Regions from separate parts of the Homo sapiens genome. Here region 2 is linked to region 1. Evidence: promoter capture Hi-C in human tissues and cell types (Jung and others, 2019). All regions are on one chromosome and are shown on one strand. Each heading gives the region's core, a stretch centred on a gene start or on the middle of the fragment in contact. The rest is flanking DNA. Distances are from core to core; before and after follow the strand shown.

What was found. Contacts are between HindIII fragments. The study calls those that stand out against the background at their distance.
Region 2: a contact is called between a fragment that was not itself captured here and the fragment with the promoter of GSTM1 in region 1, in 1 of the 25 tissues and cell types used here (adrenal gland).

What each region holds. Positions count from the first base shown.
Region 1 is chr1:109,685,785-109,689,340 of GRCh38, forward strand. It overlaps GSTM1 (glutathione S-transferase mu 1), which reads left to right and starts at 2,033. Exons shown (of 8, transcript NM_000561.4): 1 at 2,033-2,125; 2 at 2,386-2,461; 3 at 2,889-2,953; 4 at 3,264-3,345; 5 at 3,441-3,541. The coding sequence starts at 2,090. RefSeq lists an enhancer at 2,083-2,132. The HindIII fragment of the contact is 14,943 bases long and covers 1-3,556 here.
Region 2 is chr1:109,373,661-109,377,026 of GRCh38, forward strand. The region is part of intron 1 of SORT1 (sortilin 1); the gene reads right to left. Among named protein-coding and RNA genes, the nearest start is that of SORT1, 23 kb to the right of the region's middle. The HindIII fragment of the contact is 7,210 bases long and covers 1-3,366 here.

The sequences.
Region 1 (3,556 bases), core at 783-3,282:
ATCCTCTGGAGTCCTAACAATGTTTTAGCTAATTTACAAAAAACAAAACAAAACAAAACAAAACAAAACAAAACAAAAAAACTACTTTTTTTGCAGCACAACAGCCTGGTTTACATTGCAAAATGATTTCTCATTAAAGGTCTATCATCTATTTCCATATGTCCATTATTATTTGCAATATCCTTTAAAGCAGTCAACCCCAGGCTAATCCATTGCACAACTCTTTTGAAAGTCTTCCTTCTACCTTGAAAGAAGAAAGTTGGCAGGTTGGACATTGTTCTCGTGGAGGTTGTACCATGGGTCACATATCACGGTGTGACTTCAAAGGCCACTGGAGCCACCGTCTCATACTGAAGAACACACATGGGTCAGGAGCCAGGTCCAGGTCCGGAATGGTGGATCTGGAGAGGGGAGGGTCCCTGCCTGTGGTCCTGTGGGGAGCCCTCAGGCTCCTCTCTGGCCACCATCCTCTGACCTCCCTCCTCAGCAGGACAGGGTTCTGGCTTCTCTGAGGGACAGGTTCTGTGGCAGGCCAGGCGTCACTAACACAGGCCTCCATAACAACTGTTTCAGTACTGACTGAGTGGTGAAGTTAAATATTAAAAGCTGAAAAAAGCCAGTACCTTTATACAGAGGCTGGATGTAACAAAAGCCCACCAAGAGTTTTGCTTAGGCCTTTCCTGGGCCTTAAAGCATGACAAAACAATGAAGGAATTCTTAACAGGACCTATTTAGAATTAAACAAGTTTTATTGTGAGTCTGAAGAAACTCCCCAGGCCTCCACAAACAAGTTTATTGGGCGTCTGAAGGAACTCCCCAAACCTCCGTGATTTAGCAGGAGACAAGATAAGGGTAATCATCCCCCGCACCTGGACCCATTTAGATTAAATAAATAGACTGAGGCTCCAGAATAAGGTCCTCAGGACCCAGACCTCAGTTACAGATTAAAGAAGTTAATCACTTATGTCTTTAGATGAATGCACACTTACTTGTAGACATATACCTTAGAAGGTATATATGCTCTGGAAAACTTTGTAATATTGAGTTGGTCTGGTGGTAATTTCTAGGCCTTCTCCCTGTTACCGGTTGCAGAAATAAAACCTCTCTTCCTCCCCATTTGATCTGCATCTCGTTATTGGGCCTAGAGAAATAGCAGCCGGACCCTCAGTTTGGTCCGGGAAGTTCTTCCATCCTCCCTCGCCTGCTCTCTGTGGCCACTGCACTCACTGTTGCTGTTGCTGTTCCGGTCTCTGTGAGGTTCACCTAGTGGACTGGCTGGACATTTCTAGGGGGCACCTCAGATACCTCACCAACTTGCTGGATCTGATCCTTGGATTTCGATTCATAAATTGTGCCAAAATACGAAGTGGCTAATTTACACAGTACTTAGCCAGATGACCGAAGGACTCAGTACCCGAGGGCCCCTAACAGAAAACACAGACCACATTTCCTTTACTCTGGCCCTTTTCCTGGGGGTCCTTCCTATACCACTGACACTGTTCCTGTGTAGGCGGGGCTAGAGGGGAGACTAAGCCCTGGGAGTAGCTTTCGGATCAGAGGAAGTCCTGCTCTTACAGTGACAGGGGCTGAATTAAATTCCCAGGTTGGGGCCACCACTTTTTAGTCTGACCCCTGCAGCCGGAGTCTCCCAGAGCCCTTGGGAACTCGGCAGCGGAGAGAAGGCTGAGGGACACCGCGGGCAGGGAGGAGAAGGGAGAAGAGCTTTGCTCCGTTAGGATCTGGCTGGTGTCTCAAGCGCACAGCCAAGTCGCTGTGGACCTAGCAAGGGCTGGATGGACTCGTGGAGCCTCAGGGCTGGGTAGGGAAGCTGGCGAGGCCGAGCCCCGCCTTGGGCTTCTGGGCGCCCTGACTTCGCTCCCGGAACCCTCGGGCCTGGGAGGCGGGAGGAAGTCTTACTGAGTGCAGCCCCAGGCGCCCTCTCCCGGGCCTCCAGAATGGCGCCTTTCGGGTTGTGGCGGGCCGAGGGGCGGGGTCGCAGCAAGGCCCCGCCTGTCCCCTCTCCGGAGCTCTTATACTCTGAGCCCTGCTCGGTTTAGGCCTGTCTGCGGAATCCGCACCAACCAGCACCATGCCCATGATACTGGGGTACTGGGACATCCGCGGGGTGAGCGAGGGTCCGCTGGACGGTGGGACGAGGGCGCAGGGGAGGGAAGTGCGAAGCAGCTGCGGGACGGACTCTAGGGACCGTTCCTCTTCAGGGCTGCCCGCCTCAGAAGGGCCTGTGCATGCCGCTGTGTGTGTGTTGGGGGTGTGGGCGGGTAGAGGAGGCAACGGGTACGTGCAGTGTAAACTGGGGGCTTCCCTGGTGCAGACAAAGTCAGGGACCCTCCATCTCTGACGCGACCTGCGGGCCATCTCTCCCAGCTGGCCCACGCCATCCGCCTGCTCCTGGAATACACAGACTCAAGCTATGAGGAAAAGAAGTACACGATGGGGGACGGTAATGGCACCCTCGTGTTCGGGCTCTGCCCACTCACGCTAAGTTGGCACCAAGCAACCCATGGTGGCCACCTGTGGCTGCCTCTGCAGGCCTCCCCTGCTGGAGCTGCAGGCTGTCTCTTCCCTGAGCCCCGGTGAGGGAGCCCTCTGGCCTTGCAAGGCAGAATGCTGGGGTGGGATGCTGGGCCCCCTGTCTAATTGGGACGGGTGTCCCTCAGGGCTTGCCTAAACCCTGGAAGCCTTAGCTGTGTGGGGTCCAGAGCCCTCAGCGGGATTCTTTGTCCCTGAACCCTGGGATGTGGGACTGAGTGGTCAGATTCTAGATCCACCTGTCTCAGGGATCTTGCCACTGGCTCCGTGGGAGGGTCCCCGGGAAGGAGGGCTGGGCTCTGGGGAGGTTTGTTTTCACTTCTTCTTCCCCACCACAGCTCCTGATTATGACAGAAGCCAGTGGCTGAATGAAAAATTCAAGCTGGGCCTGGACTTTCCCAATGTAGGTGCAGGGGAAGGGGCGGTTTTGGGGGAAAGTGCAACGTGTCTCTGACTGCATCTCCTCTCCCCAGCTTAGAGGTGTTAAGATCAGGAGTCTTCTGCCCAATTCCTCTCACTCCTGGCTGTCTAAACAGTCCTTCCATGATGTTCTGTGTCCACCTGCATTCGTTCATGTGACAGTATTCTTATTTCAGTCCTGCCATGAGCAGGCACAGTGAGTGCCCGGTCTCCTCTCTGCTCTTGCTTATGGGAAGGGGATGCTGGGGAGCCTGGTGGCCCAACTGAGCTTCGCCGGTTTCCCATCCATCCAGCTGCCCTACTTGATTGATGGGGCTCACAAGATCACCCAGAGCAACGCCATCTTGTGCTACATTGCCCGCAAGCACAACCTGTGTGAGTGTGGGTGGCTGCAATGTGTGGGGGGAAGGTGGCCTCCTCCTTGGCTGGGCTGTGATGCTGAGATTGAGTCTGTGTTTTGTGGGTGGCAGGTGGGGAGACAGAAGAGGAGAAGATTCGTGTGGACATTTTGGAGAACCAGACCATGGACAACCATATGCAGCTGGGCATGATCTGCTACAATCCAGAATTTGTGAGTGTCCCCAGT
Region 2 (3,366 bases), core at 462-2,961, 310 kb before region 1:
AAAAGCAAGACCCAAAAGGATCAAACTGTTTCCAAGTAACCAGTGTTCCAGAACAAAGTTCAAGAATATTTAAAAGAATACAAAAATATCTAGCACCCAACAAGCTAAGACTCACAATATCCAACTGAAAAATCATCAGGTGGGTAGGTGCAGTAGCTTATGTCTATAATCCCAGCCCTTTGGGAGGCCGAGGTGGGAGGATCACTTGAGGCCAGGAGTTCAAAGCCAGCCTGGGCAATGTAGCAAGACCCCCATTTCCACAAAAACAATTTAAAAAAATCAGCTAGGCATGGTGGCACATGCTTGTAGCCCTCGCTACTTGGGAGGCTGAGGCAGGAGGATCTCTTGAGCCCAGGAGTTTGAGGCTACAGTGAGCTATGATCATACCACTGCACTCCAGCCTGAGCAACAGAGCAAGACCCTGTCTCTTAAAATAAATTTTTAAAAATAACCAGGCACGCAAAGAAGAAATCAGGACCCATAATGAAGAGAAAAATCAAACTAACTCAGAAATAACAAGATAATTAGTAGATAAGGACATTGCAACAGTTGTAACTGTACTCCACAAGAAATTAGAGAATGGATTGAGAATGTTAAAGAAAAAAAATTTTTTTAAAGACTTAAAATTTTTTAAAGACCCAGTGGCTCATGCCTATAATCCCAGCATTTTGGGAGGCCAAGGTGGGCGGATCACTTGAGGTCAAGAGTTCGAGACCAGCCTGGCCAACATGGTAAAATCCCGTCTCCACTAAAAATACGAAAATTACTAAAATACTAAAAATTAGCCAAGTGTGGTGGTGGGCACCTGTAATCCCAGCTACTCAAGAGGCTGAGGGAGGAGAATCACTTGAATCCAGGAGGCAGAGGTTGCAGTGAGCAGAGATTGGACCATTGCACTACAGCTTGGGTGACAAGAAAACACCGTCTCAAAAAAAAAAAGAAAGAAAGAAAAGAAAAAGACTTAAATTAGACTTGTAGAAATGAGTATTACAATGACTGAAATGAAAAGTACACTGGATAGGGTGCTGTGGCTCATGCCTGTAATCCCAGCACTTTGGGAGACTGAGGCGGGCAGATCACCTGAGTTCAGAAGTTTGAGACCAGCCTCACCAACATGGTGAAAACTTGTCTCTACTAAAAATACAAAAACTAGCCAGGCGTGGTGACATACACCTGTAGTCCCAGCTACTCAGAAGGCTGAGGCAGGAGAATCGCTTGAACCTGGGAGGTGGAGGCTGTATTGAGCCAAGATTGCACGACTGAACTCCACCTGAGTGACAGAGTGAGACTCCGTCTCAAAAACAAACAAACAAAAAAACAAACACTGGATAGGCTGAACAGGAGATTAGACACTGTAGAAGAGGTGAGTGTGAACCTGAAGCCATACCAACAGAAACTATCCAAAGTGAAACACAGAGATAAAAAAAGACAAAAAATGAACAGAGCTATCAATTCAGAAGATGTTCTACAATTTCTACAAATGTTCTTAAAGTTGTTCTACAGCTCAGCGATGGCTCTGTTCATTCTTTTTGAAGTAGAACAACTTCAAGCAGCTGATTATATATGCAATCAGGGCATCTAGAGGAGGCTGGGCTGGAGACAGAAAAAAAAGTTAAGATATAATAGCCACGGTGGCTCACGCCTGTAATCCCAGCACTTTGGGAGGCCAAGGCGGGCAGATCACGAGGTCAGGAGATCAAGACCATCCCCGTCTCTACTAAAAATACAAAAAATTCGCCGGGCGAGGTGGCGGGCGCCTGTAGTACCAGCTACGCGGGAGGCTGAGGCAGGAGAATGGCGTGAACCCCAGGGGGCGGTGCCTGCAGTGAGCCGAGATCGCGCCACTGCACTCCAGCCTGGGCGACAGTGAGACTCCGTTTCAAAAAAAAAAAAAAAAGATATAATAGCCAAAATTTCCCCAAATGTGATGAAAAGGATAAACCCAGAGATCCAAGAAGCTCAGAAACCCTAAGCTCAAGAAACACGATGAAAAATACACCAAAGCACATCATATCATAGTCAAATAATCTAAAATCAGCAATAGAGAAAAATCTTAAAAGCATCCACAAAAAAGATGACATTACATACAGAGAAACAAAGAATGATAGCCGACTCTTCCTACAATGCAAGCCAGACAGTGGAGTAACATATTTAAAGTACTGGCAAAAAAACAGTCAAGCTGTAATTCTATAGCAAGTGAAACTATTTTTCAAAAATGCAGGTTTCACAATGAGATACCATCTCATACTAGAAAGAATGACTATTACTAAAACATCACACACACACACACAAAAACAGATACTGGTGAGGCTGTGGAGAAAAGGGAGTGTTTATACACTGTTGGAGGGAATGTTCAGCCCCTGTGAAAAGCGATTTGGAGATTTCTCAAAGAACTTAAAGGGCCGGGCGTGGTGGCTCACGCTTGTAATCCCAGCACTTTGGGAGGCCGAGGCGGGCGGATCACGAGGTCAGGAGATCGAGACTACGGTGAAACCCCGTCTCTACTAAAAATACAAAAAATTAGCCGGGCGTGGCGGCGGGCGCCTGTAGTCCCAGCTACTCGGAGAGGCTGAGGCAGGAGAATGGCGTGAACCCGGGAGGCGGAGCTTGCAGTGAGCCGTGATCGCGCCACCGCATTCCAGCCTGGGCAACAGAGGGAGACTCCATCTCAAAAAAAAAAAAAAAAAAAGGAACTTAAAAGAGAACTATGATCTGACCCAGCAATCCTGTTACTGGGTATATATCCAAAAGAAAACAAATCATTCTACCAAAAAGACACATGCACTATGTTAATTATAGCTCTATTTACAATAGCAAAGACATGGAATCAACCTAGGTGCCCATCAGCAGTGGATTGGATAAAGAAAATATGGTCTATATACACCATGTAATACTATGGAGCCATAAAATGAATGATATCATGTCCCTTGCAGCAACATGGATGCACATGGAGGCCATTACCCTCAGTAAATTAACACAGAAACAGAAAACCAAATACCACATGCTCTCACTTATATTGGGAGGTAAACACTGGGTACTCATGGACATAAAGATGGCAACAACAGAAACGGGATTATTAGAGGAGGGACGCAGGTGAGTACTGGTAAACTAACTTTTGGGTACTATGTTCACTACCTGAGTGATGGGATCATTTGTATCCCAGCATCGCACAATATACCCAGGTAACAAACCTGCACATGTACCCCTAAATCTAAAAGTTGAAAAATGCAACTTTCAAAAAGGAAAAGTTCTGTGTTTCTGCACTTGTCCATTGCTCCTCAGCATTCTATTGTGGGTGTTTCTTTTTGACAGCCACAGGGGACAGACTATACCAGTGAAAAAGATCTGAAAGACAGCCTAAGTCCC